5 separate regions of the Homo sapiens genome follow, and all the other regions are linked to region 1. The links are contacts of gene promoters, found by promoter capture Hi-C in blood cells and fetal thymus (Javierre and others, 2016). All regions are on one chromosome and are shown on one strand. Each heading gives the region's core, a stretch centred on a gene start or on the middle of the fragment in contact. The rest is flanking DNA. Distances are from core to core; before and after follow the strand shown. Region 1 holds the start of NOP2 (NOP2 nucleolar protein). Region 2 holds the start of LRRC23 (leucine rich repeat containing 23). Region 3 overlaps LOC105369632 (a long non-coding RNA gene). Region 4 has its middle 14 kb from the start of PLEKHG6. Region 5 holds the start of GNB3 (G protein subunit beta 3).

Region 1 (2,812 bases), core at 101-2,600:
GGCCCGACCTAACGTCCTCCAACCTTGAAACCCTTGTAGTTCACCCCTTCTCATGTCCCAGACCAGGTCAGCCTTGCAACCCGTTGTTTCCCAACTAATTGTAGACCCACCTGAAAGCGAGTTCCGGCGAAGAGGCCCCCTGCGAATGAGGTGCAGTGCAGCACCTTAATTGAGGGGCTGAGCAGGGGTCAGCATCAAGGAAGGTGCTGGGAGGGCGGGGCACGGTGGCTCACAGCCTGTAATCTCAGCACAAAGGTGGGGGCAGGAGGATCGCTTAAGCCCAGGAGTTCTAGACCAGCCCTGGCAATATAGTGAGACGCCACCCCCTACAACCCGTCTCTATAAAAAGATTTTTAAAAAAGGGGCAAAGAGGAGGAGGTAAGTGGCATGGAATTCCACGGTTTTTTTTGTTTGTTTGTTTTGAGATGGAGTCTCGCTTTGTTGCCAGGCTGGAGTACAGTGGCGCGATCTCAGCTCACTGCAACCTCCCCCTCCCGGGTTCAAGCGATTCTCCTGCCTCAGCCTCCCGAGTAGCTGGGACTACACGCGTGCGCCAGCCACCATGCCCAACTAATTTTTGTATTTTTAATAGAGACAAGGTTGGCCAAGATGGTCTCGGATTTCTTGACCTCGTGATCCGCCCGCCTCGACCTCCCAAAGTGCTGGGATTACAGGCGTGAGCCACCGAGCCCGGCTGGTTTTTTTGTTTTTTTTTTTTGAGGTGGAGTTTCGCTCTTGGTGAGGCTTAAGTGGCACGATCTCGGCTTACTGCAACCTCCGCCTCCCGGGCTCAAGCAATTCTGCCTCAGCCTCTCGAGTAGCTGGGATTATAGGCGCCCGCCACCACGCCCGGCTAATTTTGTATTTTTAGTAGAAGCAGGGTTTCACCATATTGGCCAGGCTGGTCTCGAACTCCTGACCTCAAGTGATCCACCCACCTCAGCCTCCCAAAGTGCTGGGATTACAGGCGTGAGCCACTGCGCCCAGCCTGGAATTCCGTGATCTTGACGCTGGACTAGGGCAGTGGATGCGAGGGAGAGGGCTCCAATGTCGGGCCCTGGTTCGAGGAGAAGGTGCGGCTTTCACCCAACAGAAACCGGCCGTGAGGCTAAAAGCCAACTCCATGAGGGAAGGTCGGTCAAGCTCAATGGTTTCGTCACATTGCTCCCTCCACCCGCCGCGGGTGTAAGCTGCGCGTCTCCTTCGAATTGCCCCCTACTCGCCGCCGCCGGCTCCGCTGGCGTTCCCAGGGCGAGCGTAAGTTCCGGGTGCGGCGGCCGACTAGGCGCAACAGGAAGAGGCGGGGCCGCGAGGCTAGCGCTACCCGTGCGCCTGCGTGGAACGATTCTGTGGCGAGTGCCGGCCGAAAGCTAGGTCCGGATTGCACGTGGAGGGCCGCCCGAAGGGCACTCTCGGACATTAACCCGCATTCTGGTGGGTCTAGAGGAAATTGGGGGACGAAGAGTGGCAGCACTGACCTGGTCTGGGACGTGGGGAGAAGGGTGCGCTACCTGGGTTTCAGGTGGGAGGGCGTTCGGTCGGGCCTCCAGGGGGATAGCGGGGGTGCTTGAGTCGCGGGTGCTGAGTCGGGAGTGCTGAGTGAGTTGCGGGTGCTGAGTTGAGGCTGTGCCCTTTCCCACTATAATACGCCAAGCGTGCGTTCTGCCGTTCCCTCCGACACGCGCGACGCCACCTTCTCCCATTTCTGCCTGCCACAGTACCATGGGGCGCAAGTTGGACCCTACGAAGGAGAAGCGGGGGCCAGGCCGAAAGGCCCGGAAGCAGAAGGGTGCCGAGACAGAACTCGTCAGATTCTTGCCTGCAGGTAAGGATTAGTTGTGGCCTCCTGATCCCTCAGCTTTTGCAGTATTCTGTATTATAACCTCTTCTCTTTTTTAGTTTCTGTTCATTTTATATTTAAGTGGAATCTTCTCTGTATGAGTTACTAGGAGGTATGAATGAAACAGCCGTTTAGATTGTAGGGAACTGTTTAGGTCGTAGAGATGTGAAGACACGGACACAACTATTATTCATGCAAGGGAAAAGTGTGATTTAAAACAATTGTGAGTTCAGAGGAAGGGGGAGCCCATGCAGAACTGTAAAAGTTTTTGTTAAGCTGGGTTTTGAAAAATGGGTAACATTGTAGCAAGAGGAAGTAGTGAAGGGGAGGGGTCAGTCACTGATTTGCCTTTTGGAAGGGGTGGAAATGGAAAAGCACGGATCTGGCTGCTTCATGCCGAGTAGTAGTATACTGTGTGGAAGACTGGTGGGAGGTAACACTGGACCGGGAGTTTGTGTTGGGCATTGGATAAAGGATGCAGTTTATTGAGATAGTAGGAAGTCCTGGGCACTGTATTAAACTTGTTGGTCATGTTATATCGCTTAATCATCTTAGAGTCCTGTGAGAGAGGCACTATTAAGGAAACACTTTGGGAGGCCGAGGCAGGTGGATCACCTGAGGTCCAGTGTTCGAGACCAGCCTGGCCAACATGGTGAAACCCTGTCTTTACTAAAAATACAACAATTAGCTGGGTGTGGTGATGGGAGGCTGAGGCAATAGAATCGCTTGAATCTGGGAGAAGGAGGTTGCAGTGAGTTGAGATCACGCCATTGCACTCCAGCCTGGAAGACAAGAGTGAAACTCCATTTCAAAAAAAAAAAAGAAACTTGTATACAGTTATTAAATAATAACAGGGCTGAGATTTAAATGGACTCCTTTTAATTAGTGTACTAATTCTCTTACCATGTTTATTTCCGTTCCCATTTATTTTTAATGTCCCCTGTAACTTGTTCTGCCTCGTTTTTCTTTTTT
Region 2 (2,812 bases), core at 1-2,500, 340 kb before region 1:
TTTCCACTAGGCATGAGAAGAGTCAAACTCTCAACCAGAACACCCAGGAATGACAGTGGGAAAGGAGATAGGGGCCCTACAGTCTCACAGTCCTCATCTGGTCCCCCCAAAACGCACCTCTCTTTAACCTCCAGCTTGACATAAGCATGAGCCAGCCCATTGCCTGTCTTACAGAGCAGAGAAAGCCCTTCCTTCATCATGTCCTCCGTGAGGGGGGTGGGCAGCCACTGCAGGTAGAAGTGGAGTAAGGTGTCTCTCCCCTGCCCAACCCCCTCCTTCAGCCCTAGGACCCCTCCTTGTCCAGGCTCTCACTTCCTCAGGGAACTCTTCCCCCTCTTTTCTGTAGTCCTCCCCCTCCTCTGTCTCCTTCTCGTCCTCTTCTTTCTCAGAATCATCCTGGTCTGGCTCAGAGTCTTCTAGATCATCTTCATCTGACATCTTTCTTCCCTCCTGAAAGCTCTGGAGTCAGATAAGCTCAGTCCTCCTCCTGAAAAAGAAGGTCTCATCAGCTTCTGCCAGCCTTCAGCTCCTTCATCGTCATTGACACGTGCCACTCCCATCACCCCCATGACTTCTGACCCACCAACTCTAGGCTTCTTTCCTTATCCCTGTGAACATCTCATTTTGATTCTCAACTCCCACTTCACACTTTCCACTGAGGACCCCCTCCCTTCAGGATGTCACCCACACCCCCAGGCCTTTCCTGTCCTTCACAGTGACTCCAGCTCTCCTCCAGCAGCCGGGTGTCCCTATTTCCTGGGCTTCCCTCTCCCCCATTCTTCCCACCTCCCCCTTAAGCCATGCTCTCCAATCTTCCCTACCAATTCCTCCTCCTCTCCTCTCAGCTCCCATTGCGCCATCCGTAATCCCTGCTCCATTCATTTCTTCTACTTTTCCCTCCCCACTGGGCCAATTTCCTTGGGCCCTCTGGTACACCAGCCTAAAGCGCAGTCTCCAACCCTCCCACTCAATTCGCCTTAGCAAAGGGGCTCAGACCCTGTTTCTGCTCAATCAGAAGCAGTTCTGGAGAGGCCCTTGGTCCCGAGAGGGAAGGACTGTTTAGCAAGCGGGCGAGGGGAAGGAGGGGTTGTGTACTGCTGTTATGGCAACGGGGACGGGGCACTTGGCAACTGCAGCTCGCCACCGTTGAGAGTAGAGCGGCGACTACCTGATGCGCAAATCAGCCGGGGAGGGGATTGATCAGTAGTTGCCTGGTTACCACGCCACTTTCCCGTCCCGGGAACCCGGATGAGGCGCGGAAGGGGCGTTGGGCCGCTAATTGGCTGAGGACAAAAAGAAGTGGGCAGGGCTGAGAAGCGAGAAGAGAGGGGGCGGGGCTAGTCATTACGTCACCCAAGACCTTAAAGGGACCGGACATCTTCAATGCAAAAGTATTGTGAATTCAGGAAAAACTCGTCCTTCGAAGCAAAAAGGGCGGGGCTGCGAGGAAAAGCAAGAAACACCAAGATAAGGGGTCTTTTCCCCTTCCCCCTATAGTTTCTGCTCATTAGTTATTTTCAGGTAGACCTTTGGAAGGTGGCTTGGTGGAGCGGAAGGAGTCCAGACCCAGATACCTTAAGAACTGGGTTGGAGTCTTGGCAGATCTGCATTTGCTAGCTAAACGTACCCAAGACTCTTTGTTATCTGTAGAATTAGCTTAACTATATCAACTGACAGGGATCCAGTATGAGTTATCCTGGACTGGTTTGATGCAAACCTTTTAGTGGGTGGAAGGCAGAAAATTCAACATCTGCCCACTAAAATACTCCTGATCCAACGTTGTTATATCAGTAATCAACAGGAACTGGCATAGCCAAACCCAGGCACTCAGGCCTGTCTGACATGTTGAAGGAGATGAAAAAGATGTTGAGATGCAATAAATATTTCTGGAGAGTTTGTGCGAGACATTATGTCAAACATCTTTACAACTGATATTTAATCTCTGCAACAGTCCTGTAAGATAGACATTTGAAAGAAGAGGATACTGAGGCTCAGGGAGGTTAAGATGACACAATTCCTGCCTGGGGAAAGGGGGATGTTACCAATCTTGTTGTGGAATCTAATGTAAATGAAACAATGAGGTAACCAGGTAAGATGGCATGTGATTCATTGTTAAATTGTGCCCACAGACTTTATATAACGGCAAAGTGGTCTGGTGGAAGATGTGGTGGGCAAGAAATCAGGAAGTATTATATTACCTCCTGCCCAGGGCAGCTTGGAGGAATGTGGTTAATAGGCAAATCTGTTTACTTGGTGTCATGGAACCAGTAGGGACTTTAAAGTCAGAGACACCAGCTTCAAAACCCATCTCTACTACTTAATACCTGTGTGTCCTTCAGCAGGTTATGAAATCTTACTGAGGTCTAATTTCCACAGTCGTGAAATGGGGATTATTAAAACGTCCACCTGTAAGGATTGTTAAGGGATTAAAAGAGATAATGTGGGTAAATCGCCTTGCACTTAGTTGACCCTTAGTAAACATTTTCCTGCTCCTCCCCACCCCTGGCCTGTGTCCTTGGTACTGGGGTTGCTGTGAGGAAAAAGAAATAATAAATATGAACACTCTGAAGAGTGAGATGTGCTATACAAATGAAAGTTATTGTATTGTTGGAGTGTGGAGAAGGGAAAAATCCATGTGGTTTGATGTAGTCAAAAGAAATGGATATGAGTTTCCTTGGCCAAGAAGAAAGAGGAAGACACATTAGATGGGAAGAAAAGTTGTGATGTAAGGGTTAGGAAGGTGTCCTTGAACATACACTTTTGTTATTTTGTTTTTATTTTTGTTTTGAAATAGAGTTTCCCTCTGTCGCCC
Region 3 (2,812 bases), core at 313-2,812, 320 kb before region 1:
GGTTTCACCGTGATGCCCAGGCTGGTCTTGGACTCCTGAGCTCAAACAATCCACCCACTTTCGCCTCCCAAAGTGCTAGAACTACAGGCGTGAGCACCGCGCCTGGCTATTTTCTTTTTTCTTTTCTTTTCTTTTCTTTTTTTTTTTTAAAAAAACAACTTTAGACTTTAGATATATGTGGGGAAAAGCAAAAGAGATCAGATTGTTACTGTGTCTGTGTAGAAAGAAGTAGACATAGGAGACTCCATTTTGTTCTGTACTAAGAAAAATTCTTCTGCCTTGAGATTCTGTTAATCTATAACCTTACCCCCAACCCCGTGCTCTCTGAAACATGTGCTGTGTCAACTCAGAGTTAAATGGATTAAGGGCGGTGCAAGATGTGCTTTGTTAAACAGATGCTTGAAGGCAGCATGCTCCTTAAGAGTCATCACCACTCCCTAATCTCAAGTACCCAGGGACACAAACACTGCGGAAGTCCGCAGGGACCTCTGCCTAGGAAAGCCAGGTATTGTCCAAGGTTTCTCCCCATATGATAGTCTGAAATATGGCCTCGTGGGAAGGGAAAGACCTGACCATCCCCCATCCCGACACCCGTAAAGGTTCTGTGCTGAGGAGGATTAGTAAAAGAGGAAGGAATGCCTCTTGCAGTTGAGACAAGAGGAAGGCATCTGTCACCTGCCTGTCCCTGGGCAATGGAATGTCTTGGTATAAAACCCGATTGTATGCTCCATCTACTGAGATAGGGAAAAACCGCCTTAGGGCTGGAGGTGGGACCTGCGGGCAGCAATACTGCTTTGTAAAGCATTGAGATGTTTATGTGTATGCATATCTAAAAGCACAGCACTTAATCCTTTACATTGTCTATGATGCAAAGACCTTTGTTCACGTGTTTGTCTGCTGACCCTCTCCCCACAATTGTCTTGTGACCCTGACACATCCCCCTCTTCGAGAAACACCCACAAATGATTAATAAATACTAAGGGAACTCAGAGGCTGGCAGGATCCTCCATATGCTGAACGCTGCTTCCCCGGGTCCCCTTATTTCTTTCTCTATACTTTGTGTCTTTTTCTTTCCCAAGTCTCTCGTCCCACCTTACGAGAAACACCCACAGGTGTGGAGGGGCAACCCACCCCTACAGATATATTTAGGGCTGTTTGCATATGTTTATAGAGTATTTAGTTTACTCTAAAAGATGACAAGACAGCTCCCCTCAGTGAGACCCTGGCCTAAATATATTTGCTTTATTTATATAGCAAGAGGATAACATTAAACGTGGAAGCTTTCAATTTGTGGCACTGAATGATGATCTACACAGGGCATCCTTCAAAGGCTACAATTAAGGATCCACTGGCCAGGCATGCTGGCTCACGCCTGTAATCCCAGCACTTTGGGAGGCCAAGGAGGGCAAATCACGAGGTCAGGAGTTCGAGACCAGCCTGACCAATATGGTGAAACCCTGACTCTACTAAGAATACAAAAATTAGCCAGGTGTGGTGGCGCACGCTATAATCCCAGCTACTCAGGAGGCTGGGCAGGAAAATCACTTGAACCCGGGAGGCAGAGGTTGCAGTGAGCCGAGATCCTGTCACTGCACTCCAGCCTGGGCGACAGATCAAGACTCCATCTCAAAAAAAAAAAAAAAGGATCCACCTAACTTTTCAGCAGTACAAGCCCGATTGAGATCTTCTGGTCCGTTTGTTTGCCATTCATGTTTTATGCCTTGAAATTTCTTTTTGATTGCATCCTTGGAGCTTGTATAGATCATTTTACTTTTCAAAGGTGCTAGTTCTGATGCCCACAAGAAAACATCAATTCTTCTGGATTCTTTTGTTTCAAAGCTTGCATCATACAAAGCATAGCAACAATCTTTTTCAGGAAGCATTCCCACAAAATGCTTGAAAGGCTCACTTATAGTTACACCAACATCTCCAACCAAGATCTCTTTGCCTTCTACATGATGCACTTTTTGTCTGCACTGAGACAAAAAAATGACAGCCTTTGTTCTTTTCTTGATTTCTTCTGGTGTGGAGCATTTACGAACTCTCATGTCATAAAAAATGCGACACACTTCATCAGCAACTTGCACTCCTGAGGCACGTTGTTCAGAGTTCTGCTCTGCCGAGCTTCCAGTCTTTACATTCAATTTCCTATCTCACATCTCCAGTTGTATGTCTCAAAGGCATCTGATGCACAACAGGTCATCTTCGCCCACCACCACAGGGACGCGGGGGAGGGAGCCGGCGGGTAGTGAGTCTGGGCAGCGTCCTCCTCGTGGCTGCGGGACTGAGAGGGCGGGTAGTGAGTCTGGGCAGCGTCCTCCTCATGGCTGCGGGACCGAGAGACCCAGCGCGAAGCTGATGCAGCGGCTCGAGCCTACCCGTTTTTTTTTTTTTTAAGCGTCCTCTTCTACAGCTTCCTTGGCTCTTTGTGCCTATATGCCGAAGAGCTGGGCATTTGCATGGGCCATACAGAGACTAACAAGGCCTGGAAGTTTTCCTCCTAGTCAGCGATGACTCTGGCTTTCTCCTTGTAGACATTGCCGATGGGCATTTCTGGTCCTGTCAGCTGAGTATCCAGTTCGAGTTCTTCAGCAGAACTGTCTCCCTTCTTGGGGGCCAAGGGCTTCCTGGGGAAGAGGATGAGTGAGGAGCGGTCCTCCTTCAGCCTCTGCACCTTGGCCTGCAGGGCCTGGGTGGACTGGTTCCTCCTCCTTGCATCCTCAGAGATGCCAATGGTCTGGGCCACCTTCTTGTAAATGCCAGCCACCCTTAACTCCTCCAAGCTGAGGCCCCTGCCAGCTTGTGCTTTGTA
Region 4 (2,812 bases), core at 99-2,598, 270 kb after region 1:
ACTTGTAATTTGCCTTCTATCTCACTGCTTTTTTTTTTTTTTGATCACTGAAACCTCCGCCTCCTGGGTTCAAGTAGGTCTCATGCCTCAGCCTCCCGAGTAGCTGGGATTACATGCGTGCGCCACCATGCCCAGCTAATTTTTGTATTTTTAGTACAGACAGGGTTTCGCCATGTGGGCCAGGCAGGTCTTGAACTCTTGGCCTCAAGTGATCCTCCCACCGTGGCCTCCCAAAGTGCTGGGATTACAGGTGTGAGCCACCACACCCGGCCTCCTTTTCACTGTTTTGAATTTTTAACACAAATACAAAGTCCAAGTAGATAAGAGAAAAATAACTCAAGTTATTCCTTTGTCTTTGCAATCAGGGCACTATCATTGTGTCTTTTGAATCTACCTTTGAAAGGCAGAGATAACGTGGTTCTGTTAGTGGAAAAAAGGGTCTTGATCCAGAGCCCAGAGGGTTCTTGGATCTCGTGCAGGAAATAACTCAAGGCGAGTCACAGAGTGCAGTAAGAAGAAAGTTTATTGAAAGCTATCCTGTTACACAGGAGGGCGTCCTCAGAAAGCCAGCAGAGGACTGCCCCGGCTTTGTTTTAAGTTTTTCTCGTATAGGGGTCTTGTCGATGTAAAGGTTAAACTAAGCTGTTTCTACATGTGGGTGAGCAGACTGCATGAGAGAGTTTATTACTCTGTTGATTTAAAGAAAACTGTCCTTGACGTTTTAGTGTGTAAGTATTAATACATCAAGGTGTAACTATGATTATCTTCAGAGCATATGTTGATACGAGTATCGGGACATGTGGACTCTCCATTGTTGTCGGAGGGTGTCTTTGTAGGCATCTTTAGACTGTTTCCTCAACTGTAAACACACCATGACTATAGGCTGTGACCAGCAAGGAGTGTGCCTTTCTAGCTTTTTGTGTGTGTGTGCCTTTCTAGTTTTAAGATGGGAGTTGATTGGCCAGGTGCTGTGGCTCATACCTATAATCTCAGCACTTTGGGAGGCCGAGTCGGGAGGATTACTTAAGACCAGGAGTTGAGACCAGCCGGGCAACACGGGGAGACCCTATCTCTAAATTAAAAAACAAAACAAAACAAAAAGATGGAGTTGAGTGTAAAATGGTGTCACTCTGGCTCTCCCAAGCTCCTGCTTCCATAGCAGCTCCACACGAACGGAGGCACTGACCAGCCAGAAGTAAGAAACACATGGAGCTGAGTCTGCGGGTGTCGGGGGCCCACTGAATAACGAGTTTTCAGCTTTCATTTCTGCATAGGAGATAATGTTATTTATCTTTTTTTTTTTTTTTTTTTTTTTGAGACTGAGTCTCACTCTGTCGCCCAGGCTGGAGTGCAGTGGCGCGATCTCGGCTCACTGCAAGCTCCGCCTCCCGGGTTCACGCCATTCTCCTGCCTCAGCCTCCCGAGTAGCTGGGATTACAGGCGCCCGCCACCACGCCCGGCTAATTTTTTGTATTTTTAGTAGAGATGGGGTTTCACCGTGTTAGGATGGTCTCCATCTCCTGACCTCATGATCCACCTGCCTCGGCCTCCCAGAGTGCTGGGATTACAAGCGTGAGCCACCTTGCCCGGCCGATAATGTTATTTAAATGCTAAGTTATAAAAACAAGTTAAATTGAAGTTCACATTTTATTTATTTATTTATTTATTTTTGAGATGGAGTCTCACTCTGTCACCCAGGCTGGAGTGCAGTGGCCTAATCTCGGCTCACTGAAACCTCTGCCTCCTAGGTTCAAGTGATTCTCCTGCCTCAGCCTCCTGAGTAGCTGAGATTACAGGCGTGCACTACCATGCCTGGCTAATTTTTGTATTTTTAGTAGAGATGGGGTTTCACCATGTTGGCCAGGCTGGTCTCGAACTCTTAACCTCGGGTGATCCACCTGCCTTGGCCTCCCAAAGTGCTGGGATTACAGGCGTGAGCCACTGTGCCCGGCCGAAGTTCACATATAATTAAAACTCAGTGGTAATGACAGCATTTATTTAGATTTAGAACTTAGACCAATAAAATACTTTTTCAGGGAGGAATGTTTTATCACTGACATTGTTTAGGATTGCTGGCCCAGGGGATAACAAAGAACTTTCGGTTGCTTACTCATTTACAATTCTCTAAGGACAATGCAGCCTCTATTCCCTGCCTTGGCGGTGGTGGGGAAACGGTTTTCACTACCCTGCTATTGCCTACCACTGATAAGAGGCCTACCTTTTTTTATAAAGTGGCGGAAGGGTGACTCGTGTCAAAAGGCTGGCGGGATGCCAGCATGAGTCCTTGGCCCCTCTCCTACTTCGTTCCTATCCTGTCCTGTTCTCCATCTTGCTGTTTGGACAGATGTTGCCATCCTGGACCTTGAGGCTGAGAGACTTGTCCGAGGGGTGGCACACCAGAAGGAGCCTAGGACCCTGGCACTTCATCAGCACTCCATGGAAAGTGCTCCGTCTTCAGACTATGTGAGGGAGAAATAAGATCTCATCTTTTCTGGGGTCTCACTCTCCCACCCAGGCTGAAGTGCGGTGGTGAGATCTCGGCTCACTGTAACCTCCGCCTCCTGGGTTCAAGCAATTCTCCTGCCTCAGCCTCCCGAGTGGCTGGGATTACAGGCGCCTGCCACCACGCCCAGCTAATTTTTGTATTTTTAGTAGAGACAGGGTTTCACCATGTTGGCCAGGCTGGTCTTGAACTCCTGACCTCAAGTTATCCACCCACCTCAGCCTCCCGAAGTGGTGGGATTACAGGCATGAGCCACCATGTCTGGCCCTCTTTTCTGAGGTTTCTGACACTTTCAGGGATCAGGGACAT
Region 5 (2,812 bases), core at 225-2,724, 270 kb before region 1:
CAATTTTTTTTATATTAAGAAGAGATCTCACTATGTTGCCCAGGCTGGTCTCAAACTCCTGAGCTCAAGTGATCCTTTCACGTCAGTCTCCCAAAGGGCTGGGATTACAGGCGTGAACCACTGCGCCCGGCCTGCTTTGTTATCTTGGGCAAGTTGCTTCACCTCCCTGAGTCTGTTTACTCAAGGTGTAAAATGAGGCTTATCATAGCACCTACCTTACAGAGATATCATGAAAATTCAATGAAATCAGGTATTTATGCAGCTTAGCCCAGTATCTGGCTCATAAAAAGTGTTCACTATTAACATATTTAATCCAATCTAAGATGCATCACTAAGAAAGAAAAGATGCTGTCAATTCTAATTGAAACAATGATCCATTGCTGAATGCACCTTGATTTCAGAGATGTCAAAATGTGAAGAAATGTGCATCTTAGAATTGACAAAATACAGCATAGAAAACTAGCAGCTAGAGTCTACAAGGGCTTTATAATTTACAAAGTACTATCGCTTCTTCATCTTCAAGGCCCTGGGAGGGGGCTGTGGTCACTCTTGTTCTACGGATGAGAATAGGAACCGTGTCCGCATCTTTCGCATCCAATATGGTGCCTGGCTCAGAGCAGGTCCCGCTAAAATGTTGGTCGAATGAATTAATTAATGGGTTTCCTCACTCCAAGGACGTGCTGTACTAATGCTCGGAGCAACGCGCTATTGCGGGTCGGGGAGCTCCCTTCCCCTCCCCCCATGCCCTGCCTTCCGGGGGACAGGGGGTCTTACCTCTGCCAGAGTAACGTCAGCACAGGCTTTCCTGGCATCCTGCAGGGAAAGCAGACATCAGGGGAGCAAGGGCGAGGTGGGGGTGGCAGGTGCATGGGCCTTCAGGGCAGGTTGGTCTTGGGGCTCTGGGGCTTGGGGGTCTCAAATATGCGAACCAAGTTTAGAAAGTCCCTGGTCACTTCTAGTCACTCAAGAGCAAACCCAGCCCCCTCCCCCTGGGCCACGCTCCTCATGTCCCCAGCTGTTTTCTGGGGCCCCAGGGGTAGGGCTCTGGAGTTACTGCAATCTGCTTCTTGAGCTGCTCCGCTTCCTGACGCAGTTGCTCCATCTCCCCCATGGCTGACAGGTCGAGGGGTCACTCTGGCTCCTGCCAGGAACATGGGGTCGGTGTTGAGGAACCCCCCACCAGGCTGTGCTTCTGCCCTTCGTGCCCACACCAGACTCCAAGACACAGGGAAACGACTGGGTGGCTGCACCCTCTCCCCAGCTAGGCCCTCCAAGTTTGAGGTCCTTTGCGTCCAGCCCCAGCCTGCCTGAGCCCTGCCTGCGCCCCAGCCCAGGAGAGCAGAGCCCAGGCCAGCTCCCTCTTACTTGGGCTCTGGCTGGACCTCGGCCGGGTTTCCAGCTCCGGTTCCTGGGAGCCTCCTTACTCCCTCAGCTGCGACGCCCGCGCCCGCCCGTCACCTGCCCAGGCTCTGCTGCCAGAGGAGCTGGCCTGGCCTGGCCTGGCCCCGACCGGCGGGGGGTTGGGGGGGCCTGACAGGGAAGGGTAGAGCCAACCACAACGTCAGGCAAATGAAATCAGCTGGCAGGGGTGGGGGGAAGGGGTGGGGGGAGGGAGGGAGGTGTACGGATTCCAGAGAGACTTGGGCCCAGCCGGGAGGAGGGTTGGGGGCAGGAGTGTGGGGCCATAGAGAGGGGCAGCCCCCACCACAAGCCCTGAGAGAGGAGGGGGTGAAGGGGTGCTTCCCTGGTCAGTCTCTGCAGGCAGAGATAAGAGCATCAGGCCCCACAGGATTAGAGCAAAGCTGTGAGGATTAAGGGTTGGGGTTTGGGAGGGGTGCAAAGGAGCAGACAACTACAGCTCCAGTGGCCCCCCTGGTCCCGGCCCCCATCCATGGTGATGATCTTGGCAGTCAGGGCCACTTAGCAACCAGGCCAGGAGGTGGGATATAAGGGTGATAGATGGCCCCATTGTCAGTACCTCAAACTGTGCTCCTCAGCTCAGGGTGGTGGGGAAGAGGGTTTGGTGAGTATGGGAGGGTACAGGCAGGAGCTGAGATTAGAAAGGACTGATCTGGATAATCCTTCTTCTCGACAAACCCCAACCAGCTGCCTCTGGGTCTGATCCTGTTGGGGGAGAAAGGTACAGGGGACCCACAGAGAAGGATGGACAGGTCTGCCCCTATTGTGGGCGGGCAACGGATTTCAAGTGGAGGGAAGGCCCGCACGCTGCTCCCAGGCTGGGGTCTGGCCCCCTCCTTGCCCTCTCGAGGCTGTGAAAGCAGGGGTCAGAGAGAAAGCAGGCGGCCCTAAGTCTCAGCAAAGCTCAGAGAGGGAAGACAGGGCTTACACTTGGAGGCCTAAGGAGCAGCTGCCAGGGGCTTGGGTCATTTGCATGAGGGGAGCAGGTGGCTGAGATTTCCCTGACAAATCACAGGCTCCAGGCGCCCCGCCTCTGGGAGGCCCAAAGACACCTGTCTCCTCCCAGGCCAGCCAGAGCCACCCCCACCTCCAGCCATCACAGAATCTGTGATACACTTGACTGGCCCCTGGCTGAGAGATCTTCACGACCTTTATTGCACAGACTGGGAGAGAGGAGCAGGGTTATACCTCCCAACCCCACCATCCTCTTCATTTAAAGCATCAGCCTCCTCCCCTGCCATTTCTGTTCAGGGAGGCACAGTGTTCCCCATCTGTCCAGGGCTGCAGGTCCGGCAGCGGGGCCCCGTCCCAGCTCCCCAGGCCTGGTGAGCTCCAGGCTAGCCTGTGCACTGTCCTCTGAGTCCAGGCCCTTGTAGGTCCCCAAGATGGTGGG

What was found. The method cuts DNA at HindIII sites, captures the fragments that hold promoters and counts their contacts. A CHiCAGO score of 5 or more calls a contact.
Region 2: a contact is called between the fragment with the promoter of LRRC23 here and the fragment with the promoter of NOP2 in region 1, in 10 of 17 cell types (non-activated CD4 T cells, activated CD4 T cells, naive CD4 T cells and 7 more). The highest score is 12.8, in non-activated CD4 T cells.
Region 3: a contact is called between a fragment that was not itself captured here and the fragment with the promoter of NOP2 in region 1, in 3 of 17 cell types (activated CD4 T cells, non-activated CD4 T cells and naive CD4 T cells). The highest score is 8.9, in activated CD4 T cells.
Region 4: a fragment that was not itself captured here is called in contact with the fragment with the promoter of NOP2 in region 1 in 1 of 17 cell types (non-activated CD4 T cells); the score reaches 6.1 in non-activated CD4 T cells.
Region 5: the fragment with the promoter of GNB3 here is called in contact with the fragment with the promoter of NOP2 in region 1 in 14 of 17 cell types (naive CD4 T cells, activated CD4 T cells, total CD4 T cells and 11 more); the score reaches 24.0 in naive CD4 T cells.

Annotation. Positions count from the first base shown.
Region 1 is chr12:6,566,829-6,569,640 of GRCh38, reverse strand. It overlaps NOP2 (NOP2 nucleolar protein), which reads left to right and starts at 1,350. Exons shown (of 16, transcript NM_001258308.2): 1 at 1,350-1,434; 2 at 1,719-1,825. The coding sequence starts at 1,723. CHD4-AS1 (CHD4 antisense RNA 1) reads right to left here and starts at 1,270. Exons shown (of 3, transcript NR_199067.1): 1 at 111-1,270. RefSeq lists enhancers at 1,006-1,055, 879-1,500. The HindIII fragment of the contact is 18,468 bases long and covers 1-2,812 here.
Region 2 is chr12:6,903,260-6,906,071 of GRCh38, reverse strand. It overlaps LRRC23 (leucine rich repeat containing 23), which reads right to left and starts at 1,250. Exons shown (of 8, transcript NM_001135217.2): 1 at 997-1,250; 2 at 313-487; 3 at 118-227. The coding sequence starts at 438. The HindIII fragment of the contact is 20,869 bases long and covers 1-2,812 here.
Region 3 is chr12:6,884,186-6,886,997 of GRCh38, reverse strand. The region is part of intron 1 of LOC105369632 (a long non-coding RNA gene); the gene reads left to right. It also overlaps the pseudogene RPL13P5 and the pseudogene DSTNP2. Among named protein-coding and RNA genes, the nearest start is that of SPSB2, 12 kb to the right of the region's middle. RefSeq lists enhancers at 297-844, 2,491-2,812. The HindIII fragment of the contact is 559 bases long and covers 1,283-1,841 here.
Region 4 is chr12:6,295,713-6,298,524 of GRCh38, reverse strand. No RefSeq gene overlaps it. Among named protein-coding and RNA genes, the nearest start is that of PLEKHG6, 14 kb to the left of the region's middle. RefSeq lists an enhancer at 2,372-2,812. The HindIII fragment of the contact is 3,241 bases long and covers 1-2,812 here.
Region 5 is chr12:6,839,587-6,842,398 of GRCh38, reverse strand. It overlaps GNB3 (G protein subunit beta 3), which reads right to left and starts at 1,474. Exons shown (of 10, transcript NM_002075.4): 1 at 1,366-1,474; 2 at 1,055-1,141; 3 at 775-813. The coding sequence starts at 1,111. P3H3 (prolyl 3-hydroxylase 3) reads right to left here. Exons shown (of 15, transcript NM_014262.5): 15 at 2,552-2,812. The HindIII fragment of the contact is 12,557 bases long and covers 1-2,812 here.